3 separate regions of the Homo sapiens genome follow, and all the other regions are linked to region 2. Evidence: promoter capture Hi-C in human tissues and cell types (Jung and others, 2019). All regions are on one chromosome and are shown on one strand. The core of a region is centred on a gene start or on the middle of the fragment in contact, and the rest is flanking DNA. Distances in the headings are between cores, read along the strand shown. Region 1 has its middle 11 kb from the start of SHB. Region 2 holds the start of POLR1E (RNA polymerase I subunit E). Region 3 has its middle 110 kb from the start of SHB.

Evidence for each region. Contacts are between HindIII fragments. The study calls those that stand out against the background at their distance.
Region 1: a contact is called between a fragment that was not itself captured here and the fragment with the promoter of POLR1E in region 2, in 1 of the 25 tissues and cell types used here (lymphoblastoid cells).
Region 3: a fragment that was not itself captured here is called in contact with the fragment with the promoter of POLR1E in region 2 in 1 of the 25 tissues and cell types used here (dorsolateral prefrontal cortex).

Annotation. Positions count from the first base shown.
Region 1 is chr9:38,078,672-38,082,572 of GRCh38, reverse strand. No RefSeq gene overlaps it. Among named protein-coding and RNA genes, the nearest start is that of SHB, 11 kb to the right of the region's middle. The HindIII fragment of the contact is 6,447 bases long and covers 1-3,901 here.
Region 2 is chr9:37,483,917-37,487,748 of GRCh38, reverse strand. It overlaps POLR1E (RNA polymerase I subunit E), which reads right to left and starts at 1,801. Exons shown (of 12, transcript NM_022490.4): 1 at 1,626-1,801; 2 at 943-1,046. The coding sequence starts at 1,701. RefSeq lists a silencer at 1,674-2,003 and an enhancer at 1,745-2,336. The HindIII fragment of the contact is 4,331 bases long and covers 501-3,832 here.
Region 3 is chr9:38,174,531-38,178,159 of GRCh38, reverse strand. No RefSeq gene overlaps it. Among named protein-coding and RNA genes, the nearest start is that of SHB, 110 kb to the right of the region's middle. The HindIII fragment of the contact is 4,381 bases long and covers 1-3,629 here.

The sequences.
Region 1 (3,901 bases), core at 303-2,802, 600 kb before region 2:
TTGACAAAGAGGAAAATTGGATTAAACTCTTCAGATTTAGGGTGTTTTCCTGGCACCCTAGCACATAAAGTCACTCACAAGTAAACCCAGGTAAATTTAATCTTGGTGGTTTCAATGTTTAATGCCTTTATGTCCTTTTTTTTTTGAGACAGGGTCTCACTCTGTCACCCAGGCCAGGCTGGAGTGCAGTGGCACAATCATGGCTCACAGCAGCCTCGACCTCCTGGGCTCAAGCAATCCTCCCACCTCAGCCTCCCAAGTAGCTGGGACCACAGGCACACGTCACCATGCCTGGCTAATATTTTATTTTGTATTTTTTGTAGAGATGGGGTTTTGCCATGCTGCCCAGGCTGGTCTCGAACTCCCGGACTCAAGCAATCCACCCACCTTGGCCTCCCAAACTGCTAGGATTATAGGCGTGAGCCACAGTGCCTGGTATGTCTTTTGTTTCAATTGTTACCGTCAGTATACAAAGCCCAGGTCCAGGAGCTGGGTGGGTCTAACATCTGGACTTCTGTGCACAGACAGGATGCTCTGCAGGAAGATGTGGAAGGGAGGGAGAGATGGACACAGCCAGCAGGAGGAGAGTCTGCAATGATTCTACAAAGATAAAGGTGCCCTTTTACACATGGTGGTGTGGTTTAAGGCCGGAGGTAATAACTGAGATTTAAGAACTGTGACTCAGTGAATGTCTGTTGGATTCAATCCCATACACAGTCACTGGGGCTAACACTTGGCAGGCACTCGGCCACCCACCAGGGTGGGCAGAAGTAAATAATGCACAGCCCCTGCTGCCTGGTCTCCAGACCTCTCTCAAGAAGAGGAGGATCACACATCCTGGGCACCTGGTAATCCCAAAGCTAATCCCCCATAGAAGAAAACCTAAAGGTGCTGGTGGGCACGTAGTATTTAAGTCCTCCTCAGTTGCAGAAAAACACTGCTGTGTTCTTGATCACCACTTGCTTCTGAAGCAAAGCAAGCACAGCCTCAAGGTCTGACCGCCCACCCAGCCCTGCAGATATCCGCAGATATTCTCTCTCTGCCGGCACCCTTAGAACACGGGGACTCCTTGGCACCTGGCTGACCTGTGATGTCCTCTGACCAGGCCTGATTTCCTTTCTCCCCACGTTCACTTCCTCCTTGCCTACAAGCTCCACAGATCCTTCTGCCAGACCTTCAGGCTCTCTGACCCAGACCTTTCTGCCCCTACATGCCCCTGTGTACTTCTGACTCTTATGGGCCTAACTTGACCTATTGCCAATAAGCCCCAGGTTCCAGTGGTGGCCTTCAAGACGGCTATCAGTCTGAAGTTTGGGACTGAAAAAGCCACTGCACTCAGTGGATTTGCAGCCTCCATAATCTATGCTGCACTTGCCAGATGCAGGCAGTTTGACCATTAAGATGCATCGCTACAAAGCAATTCAACTCATTTGCTCTCTTAGCACCCACCTGTAGATCAGGGCCCTGCGTACACAGCCCCTTGAGTAAGGTCACCAGAGAAAATATACAGCATTCAGTTATACTTGGATTTCTGGTAAATAAATAAGAATTAGCTATAAGTATGTCCCAACTATTGCATGGATGTCCTTTGTTGTTGTTTTTGAGACAGAGTCTCCCTCTGTCACCCAAGCTAGAGTGCAGTGGCACAATCATGTCTCACTGCAGCCTCAACCTCCCAGGCTCAAGTGATCCTCCCATCTCAGCCTCTTGAATAGCTGGGACTACAGGCTTGCACAACCATGTCCAGCTAATTTTTTTATTTATTTATTTTTTTTTTTTTAGGAGTCTTGCTCTGTCGTCACCCAGGACAGAGTGCATGGTGCGATCTTGGCTCACTGCAACCTCCACCTCTGGGTTCAAGCGATTCTCCTGCCTCAGCCTCCCAAGTAGCTGGGGTTACAGATACCCACCACCACGCCTGGCTTATTTTTGTGTTTTTTTTTGTAAAGACAGGATTTCACCATGTTGGACAGGCTGGTCTTGAACTCCTGACCTCAAACAATCTGCCTGCCTCAGATTCCCAAAGTGCTGGGATTACAGGCATGAGCACCCAGCATAATTTTATTTTTTTGTAGAGACCAGGTCTCACTATGTTGCCCAGGGTGGTCTCCAATTGCTGGGCTCAAGCAATCCTCTTTGCCCTGGCTTTCCAAAGTGCTAGGCATGAGCCACCATGCCCAGCCTGTTTTGTTTTTTCTAAATATGGCAGCCCTATCCTAAGACACCTCTACTATCCTGAATGGAAAACAATGATCTGCCAGCTCCCGTTTTGCAAACAGGGAAACTGTAGCCCCAGAGATCACAGAGGATGTCAGGTAAGAACTCAGGAGTCTTGACCCCAGACTGGAACTCTTTGCTTCCATTACACTTAACTTCGCTAAAGGCATGTACCCTCTTGCTAGAGGTGACTGTTAGTCACCTGGAGGTGATTTCAAAGGGGTCACTGAGGTCATAATTTATGACCTCTCTGCTCCACCCCATCCTCACCTCCACCCCCCTTTCTATTGCTGTAGGTATTAACAGAAGCTATCCTGGGTTATGGCCATTCTGGGACCATATCATTAATGGCCACCTCAGGGAGGAAGTGGGCTGTAAGCGGCAGGGTCAGAGACAGCTGTGAGTGAGAGCCCATCATTGGGTAACACAAGGACAAGTGGGATTTGAAACAGGCAAACACCGGGCAAAGCATGTTGGGAGAGGCCCACTTAATTCACAGAGACACTTGGAATTAGCTGTAAATTCTCTGGGAAGAGATCAAGGCAGCGGCATAAACAGCTCAATTAAACTGTTGGCTCAATGCTCAGTGCGCGGTAATGGTCAAAACACAGACTTTAATCTAGATATAGAGGATTATTTCTCGACCCGTAATGAGATTCCTAAGATTAGTTGTACCTGATGTGGAGAGAACAGCAGCTGGCTCAGCGACACTGGGGACAGGCTTACATGTCAGCAGGACTGGGACTCACGTGGAAGCGGCTAACTGGATGCCACAACTTTCCTGGAGCCCCCTCCGGATGCCAGGAAGGCAGGGATGAGTCATGTTCTGCTTCCTCAATTTAAGAGATCTGGGAACAGAACCCCAGAATGCATGTGCTTCAAAAGTACAGCAAGTCAACACAGTATGGCTCTGGCATAAAAACAGACATATAGACCAACGGAAAGAATAGAGCCCAGAAATAAACCCGAGTATATATGGTCAACTAATTTTCAACATGGGCACCAAGAACACACAATGGGGAAAGGACAGTCTTTTCAATAAATGATATTGGGAAAATTGGATTTTCACATGGAAAATAATAAAATTGGACCCTGACCTTACACCAGACACAAAAATCAACTCAATATGAATCAAAGACCTAAATGAAAGACCCAAAGCTGTAAAACTCCTAGAAAAAAAACACGAAAGAAGAGCTCCTTGACACTGGCCTTGGCAATGATTTTTTTGGGGTATCACACCAAAAGCATAGACAATGAAAACAAAAATAAACAAGTGGAACTACATCAAGTTAAAAAGCTTCTGCATAACAAAGGAAACAATCAACAAAATGAATCGGCAGCCTAAAGATTGGGAGGAAACATTTGCAAACCACATATCTGATAAGGGATTAATATTTAAAAGATGTAAGAAACTCACACAACTCAATAGCAAAAGGGTTTTTTGTTTGTTTTGAGATGGAGTCTTGCTCTGTCACCCAGGCTGGAGTGCAGTGGCACGATCTCGGCTCACTGCAACCTCCACCTCCTGGATTCAAGCAATTCTGTGCCTCAGCCTCCTGAGTAGCTGGGATTACAGGCACCCACCACGCCCGGCTACTTTTTTGTATTTTTAGTAGAGATGGGGTTTCACCATCTTGGCCAAGCTGGTCTCGAACTCCTGACCTTGCGATCCACCTGCCTCGGC
Region 2 (3,832 bases), core at 552-3,051:
ACTAGTTCATCTCTGGCAGATGATCCAGCCCCACTATCTCTAAGGGAATATGGGGTGTCCCTGCAGGGGAAGCAAGACGACTTCTGGAAGAGAAGCCTCAGATGGTGCTAGCTTCTAAATGGTATGAAAAGCTCTTGGGGGAATTCTGCCACAAGACTTGAGAGAGAGGCCCTGGGCTTCTGGCACTTAAAGGTATGCAACAAAGTGATTCTGTAAGCAATCTCTCTTTGGCCTGTTCTTTGTATACTCTCAGGACCATGGCTGATTCACTCCCCAATCATAAGCAAGCTTTCCTGCTTCTCTGCATTTGTCCTCACTATCCTTTTCACTCGAAACACCAAACGTTGACTGCCAAACCCTCATTCCAGCCTTCAAGGCTCAGCTCCAACATGACCTCACCAAGGAAGGCATTCTGGCAGAGACCTCTCCTCCCACTGAGCTCACTCTGCCCTGTACTCTTCCCCACGTGGCCTCAGAGCTTTGTGTAAAAGTGTCCCTCACAGCCAGTTCTCATCTCTCTAGAGCAGAGGTTCTCAATCCAGGGAAATCCACTCTGGTGCTACTGGCATCTAATGAGTAGAGACTAGGGATGCTGCCCCCACAGCAAAGAATTATTGGCCCAAAAAGTCAATAGTCCTGAGGTTGAGAAACCCTGCTCTAGAGTATGAACTCTGAGTGGGGCTAGGCCTGATTTGGCTGTTTTCCTAGAAGCTTGCAGCACAGGGATGCAGAGGGGCAGGTTCCATAAATGCTTGTTGAAAGAACAAATGAATGAAAGATGGAGCCTGTCCCCACATCCCAGGCTGCTGGGCATCAGAGTTCTTCAAAGCTCCATTTGCTACTACTCCCCTTTTTCTCCCCTCACTCCCTCCCACATCCACCCACTCCCAGGGGCCTTCTGAGCCCTGCAGAGTGGAGACAGCTGGCAACTGCTTCACTTACCAGGATCCGTTGATTCCTCTTCCTGGGGTTGGTGGAATCTTTGTTCTCATACAAGGTAAAGCGCATGTTGCCTGGACTCTGTAGCTTCCCGTTGGAGAACTGGACTGTAAGAGTGCAGCCCAAGAATGAGATGAGAGCAGAAGGCCACACAATGTACCACACAATGTACGGTGGGACTAGACTGTCACTGGGAGGGAGTGTCAGAATGGGGATGGCAAGGAAGCTCGGGTCCTGACCCAAAGGGAACTGGAGGAGATCCGGGGCCAGCTGAGAAGAGGAGGTAGGGAGGTGGGAGAACCCTGGGGAGGGGCTGTGACAGGAGGGAATGTCTCGCGGAAGGAGGCTGACAGCAGAGGCCTGGTACATACCTAAAGTGACAGAAGGAACCCCTGCCCAGTGAAGAGAGGGAAATGGGGGAGGCGGGAGACCTGGTGGGTGAGGGGGTCAGCAGGGTCCTGGACACAGCTCTGGGGAGCGGGTGAGTGGGATGTCCCAATCTGGCTGGGAGGTAGTGACAGAAAGACGGACAGGGGAGCCCTGACAGAGCCCAGGGGAGTGGTGGAGACTAGAGGGGTCCCGGCCCCGCTGGGGAGAAGCCCAACGGAGGGCGAGAGGACAGCTGAGGTACCGAGACGGAAGGGGAGAGGGTTAGAGGAGCACTGCTCCAGCTCCGCAGTCTTTACCCAGTACAGCTCTCTGGCTCCCGTCGGGCGCCCCACAATACTGCCACCTCGCACTCGGCAACACCTCCGCCGCCATCTCGCCTGTCTGTCCGCCAAGCACAGGAGTTAAGACAGCAGCAGCCACAAGCGCACTTTTAAACACGCGGGAGCCCAGGCCGCGCTGCGGGCCGGAAAAGGCGTGGCCCCGCCGGGCACCGCCCACAGCGCGCGAGCCGCGTGTCCCCGCCCCCCGCGTAGAGAGGCGTGGTCTCCGCCCACAAGGTGCCACACACCCGCTTGACTGGCCGAGGCGCAGCACCTGATTGGCTCAGCGCTCGCGTGCACTCTGGGTTTTGTAGGTCCAGAGCCCGAGGCGCCAAAGGCTTCAGCCTAAGCTTGCTATGAGCCTTCTTCCGGCTCAGCACCTTCTAAAGAGAGTGTCGTCTCTCTCTCCTACCGTGACAAACTCATCTTCCCAAGACCTGAAGGACCAAGTTCAAATTTAGAATTCTCTGACAGGAACTGCTTGAGCCCCAACTAAATGTGGCCGCTGGCGAATAGCCGCCCCTCTCTAGGGCTTCCCACCCACCCACGTGGACATCCAGCTCTAGGTACAAACTTTGTCCACAGTCCGACAAACAGCTCCCCGCCATGGGCTGTGGCGTGCACACCTGTGGCCCAATCAACACTGAGGTGATGGAACAGAAGCCCAGCCAACCCCGGAGCCTTTGGGCAGGAGATTCTGGACTGGAATAGAAGAGGGAGTCCGAGCTGATGGACATGTCCCTTTTTCACTGCGGATTCAACCCTTCTTCTGCACGGGGAGTTTTCAGAGCAGAAAGAAGGCGAAAGCAGGGCCTTTAAGCATGGACGCTGGCCGAGGCCCCCTTTGCCCAAAGATGCGTACTATTGAAGGGCAAGAACTCCGGTTGACTCCCCTCTGTCTTCCAAATCACCTTCTTTCAAGACTCTTTTCCTTCCACACACCCTCAACACCCGCCTCCAACACCCAGGATCCTAGGAATAACCCTAAAGCCTGCATGCCCCTTTGCCTGAGCACTTGTCACGCTTTTCTAATTACCCAATCTCAAACGTAAAGAAACACTGCAAGAAATGTTTTTGCCCTGAACCATTTAGAGTAAGTTGTCAACCTGATACCCTTTCAACCCTGAAGACTATAGTATTTCCTACAGACATTCCCTAAATAACAACACAGCCATCAGAATCAGCAAATTGCCGGGCGCAGTGGTTCACGCCTGCAATCCCAGCACTTTGGGAGGGAGAGGCAGTTCTATCCCTTGATTCCAGGAGTTTGAGACCAGGCTGGGCAACATAACAAGACCCTGTCTCTACAAAAAATAATATTAGCCATGTGTGGTGGCGCACGCGTGTCGTCCCAGCTACTCGGGAGGCTGAGGTGGGAGGATTGCTTGAGCCTAGGAGGCAGAGGCTGCAGTGAGCTGTGATGGTGCCACTGCACTCTAGCCTGGGCGACAAAAAAAAAAAAAAAAATTAAACAGAAAAGAATCAGGAAATTAGCACTGGTACATTACCACCATGTAATCCTCACATCCCATTTAAGTTCACCCATTGTCCCAACGTTTGTTGTTAGTTTGTTTTTTGAGACAGGGTCTCACTCTGTCACCCAGGCTGGAGTGCAGTGTTGCAACCAGGGCTCACTGCAGCCTTGACCTTCCAGGCTCAAGTGATCCTCTCACCACAACCTGGGAATACAAGTGTGTGCCACCACACTCAGTTTTGTTTTGTTTTTTCTTAATTAAAAAAATTTTTTGTAGAGACTAGGTCTCACTGTGTTGCCAGGGCTGGTCTCAGACTCCTGGGCTCAAGTGATCCTCCCACCTTGGCCTCCCAAAGTTCTGGGATTACAGGCGTGAGCCATTGCAGCTGGCCCAATCATGTTTTTATAGCAAAAATGTCCTGTCAAGAATCATGTGTTGCATTTAGCTCTCATAGCCTTTCCTCCCTTAGAAGGCTACCTTGCTTGACCCCACCTCATGATTTTGGATTGAATTGTTCAGGAAAGGAAAAGGGAAGAAGAAGAAAGAAGAAAGAAGGATGAAGAAAGAAGAGCTTAATTGTGTGATTGTCTCACCCATTGATTGTTTCCTCACTAAACTTACTTGGGGTTCACAATAAACACTTTGGAGGTTAATAAACAAATTTATGTTTGTTTTGATCACTGCTTTATCTCCAAATCCTGAACATAC
Region 3 (3,629 bases), core at 665-3,164, 690 kb before region 2:
ATTTATTTGCCATTTATGTTTTCTTATATTACTCATTTTGACCATTTTTATACATTCTTTTCTCATTAAAAAATTTTATGTGTCTGTATGCACATTTCTTCTTTATTATTCTCTATGTTAAATTTTTGATTTTTCTTTTTTTATTAAACTTGTTGGAGCTCTTCCTCTCTCTCTTCCCTTCTATTCCTCCAAAAGCCAGTAGCTATGGCCAAGAAAGGTCAGTGTCTGCAGAGGTGAGGGAGAGCCTTGGTAACCGGAAGCAGGCTGTCAGAGCCCAGGTGGAGCACCAAGGGCATTGTGCAGGGGTGCTGCCAGGCACAGAGTGCAGAGCCTGAGCGTGGGGTGAGAATATTGGTTCAGGGGCGGAGGCGTGCAAACAGCATGAGGCATCAGAGAATAAGAGGAAAACATTCAAGAGGGGATGCCCAGCATAGGGTGTCAGAATCCAGCAGGATGAAGAAGGCTTCCAGGTGGGAAAGGCAGACTGGTGCTCAGATGTTGTGAGGAGGGCATCTGCACAGGGAAGAAGGTGCAGTTGGAGGTTGATTACATAAAGGGAATTGATCAAATAAGTAAATAGGCAGTCAGCCCTCTGTATTCATGGGTTCTGCATCCATGGGTTCAACCAACTGGATCAAAAATATTCAGGGAAAAAAAAATTACAATAATTAAAAAATAAATTAAAAGACAATACAGTATAACAGGTATTTACATAGCATTTGCATTGTATTCAATATTATAAGTAAGCTAGAGATGACTGAAGGCATATGAGAAGATGTGCATAGGTTCTACGTAAATATTATACCATATTAGATAAGGAACTTGAACATCCGTGGGGGGTCCTGGAACCAATACCCCACAAATACTGAGGGATGACTGTATTAGGGATAATGTGAATGATATTTCTCACTTTCAGGGAAGGGAGTTATAACATGTAGAAAATAAGAGAACTAGAATGAATCCAGTGATATTGGACTAGAATTGGGGCTGTTGGTGTGAGCTCACTGATTTCAAAATATGGAGACAGATATAGAAATATAGATGTAAATGTATATATATATATATATATATATATATATATATATATATATATGGGGATATATGTATACACACATCTTCAGAGGAAGAGCATAAAACTACAATGGAGAATCCTGGCAAACAGCAGGCTTATCAACTTAATGTCCACTGAAAGGGCCTGGGGTAGTGATACCCCAGTAGCAATGAGCACACCTAGTGTTCAGGTCTTGGCTTCTAAATAACATTCTCCATTAAAAGGAACAAGAGTTCCCTGGAGAAATGGCTGACTCCAGAGTTTAGATAGAGAAAGTGCAAGATATCCTGGAATATACTATCATTCTAGAAAGCAAGGTAGCTTAAAGAATGATAGAAACATGTCAAAATGAATCAGCTTAAAGGGGCTACCAAACACCAAATCAGAGGCAATTTGGGCACTAAGATAAATAGTGATAGTAACAAACGATAACTTATTGAATAGAACAGGAAATCATAAGACTATCTGACATAAATAAATGAATAAAAGTTTAATGAAGCATGGGATACACACTCTCAAAATATCTCTTCACGAAGTACTTATTAATTACATAGAGGAAAAGAGTAAAACTATAATGAAGAACCCTGGCAGATACAAGGTTTGTTTATCAACTTAGGTTATCAACATGAACATTATGAGCAATGGGATGAATCAGCATCCTGAGCCACCTGCAAGATTGCAATGAGAAGGTCACAGAAGCATCACTTCTGTGTTGTTCCTAGTTAAGACACATAACTTGAATCTAACTTTAAGGAAAGTCAGACAGGCCCAAATTAAAGGATATTAAACAAAATAAATGGGTTGTAATCTTCAAAAGTGTCAATGTCATGAGAGTCAAAGAAAGATGAAGAAAGTGTTCCAAAGTGAAGGAGTCTGTAGAGACAAGAAGCTAATCACTAAAGGCAACACATCATTCTGAACTGATTCTTTTTGATGTAAAGAACATTATTGGGACATTTGGCATAAGGAATATTATTGGGACATTTGGCAAAATGCAAATAAAATCTGAGGATTAGATGGTAATAAACTATTGATGAAAATTTCCTGATTTCAGTGGGTATGGAGGACTAGTAGGGAGGGTCTGCTCCTCACAATCCCCTCAGTTCTACCCTGTGCTTCCTCTCTCTTGCTGGGGCAAAGAGAGGGAAGATGGAAAAGGGAAAATGTCTCTTACTTAATTAGGCAAGCTTGTTATTTTTTTCCTAGATAATGATAATGAGGTGTGTATGTATGTGTATATGTGTTTTATATATTTTGATGCTATGTTACTTATTGCATAAAGATTTATAATTGTTATATATTCAAAATAACTGTACCCTTTATTGAAATAAAAGCTCTTTAAGGCCAGGGTATGGTGTCTCATGCCTGCAATCCCAGCACTTTGGGAGATAAAGGCAGAAAGATTGCTTGAGGCTAGGAGTTGGAGACCAGCCCGAGCAACATAGCGAGAACCTCATCGCTTAAAAATAAATAAATAAATAAATAAATAAATAAATAAATAAATAATAAAACCTCTTTGTTGCATTGAATCTGTTTGGTTTTGAATCCTGCTTAGCCTGAAATTAATATTAGGGCTCCTGCTGTCTTTATGTTTGTATGTGCTTGATGTAACCTTGCCTGTCATTTACTTTCATATATATTTTTTATTGGGGGAAAATATACCATTTTAACCATTTTTAGGCCTACAATTCAGTGGCATTAATTACATTCACAGTGTTCTGCAACTATTACAACTATTTCAAAAACTTCATTCTCCCAAACAGAAGCTCTAACCATTAAGCAATAGCTCCTCATTTCCCCTCTCTCCAGCCTCTGGTCATTTCTAATTACTTTCTGTCTGTGAATTTGCCTATTCTAGGCACCTCAGTATCCGTCCTTTTGTGTCTGACTTACTTCATTTCACTTAGCCTGTCTTCAAGGTTCATCTGTGTTTTAGCATGTATCACAACTTCATTCCTTTTCGTGGCTGAATAATATTCTCTAGTACATATATAACACATTTTGTTTACTCAGCAACCTGCTGATGAACACTTGGATCACTTCCACCTTTTGTCTACTGTGAATAATGCAGCAATGAACATTGATGTACGAGTATTTGTTTGAGTCCCTGCTTTCAATAGCTTTGGGTACACACCTAGGAGAGGAATTGCTGGATCCTATTTGCTTTTTGCATTACTGTTTTACTTTATTTTGAAAGCCTCTCTTATAGGAAGCATACAATTTGAGAGTTTTTGTCATAAAATAAAGGAATATAGCCCATTTACACTCATTGTTGAAATAGATTATTAGTATTATATCTATTACCCAAAAATTATTTTAATGCTTTCTTGCTTCTTCCAGTGCTTGCTGTTTGGTATGGTGACCACGTATTCTTGGCATTTTATCTTTTCCTCTGTGTGTGCATGTGTGTATACATATTGCATATGTTATATAATTATATACTATTTATTGTAATTCATTTTATATTATGTGTATTTATACATGGCACATTATCTGTCTAGAATTCTACAAATAGTTATTTTAACTTTTCTTTTTCTTTTTTTTTGAGATGGAGTCTCGCTCTGTTGCCCAGGCTGGA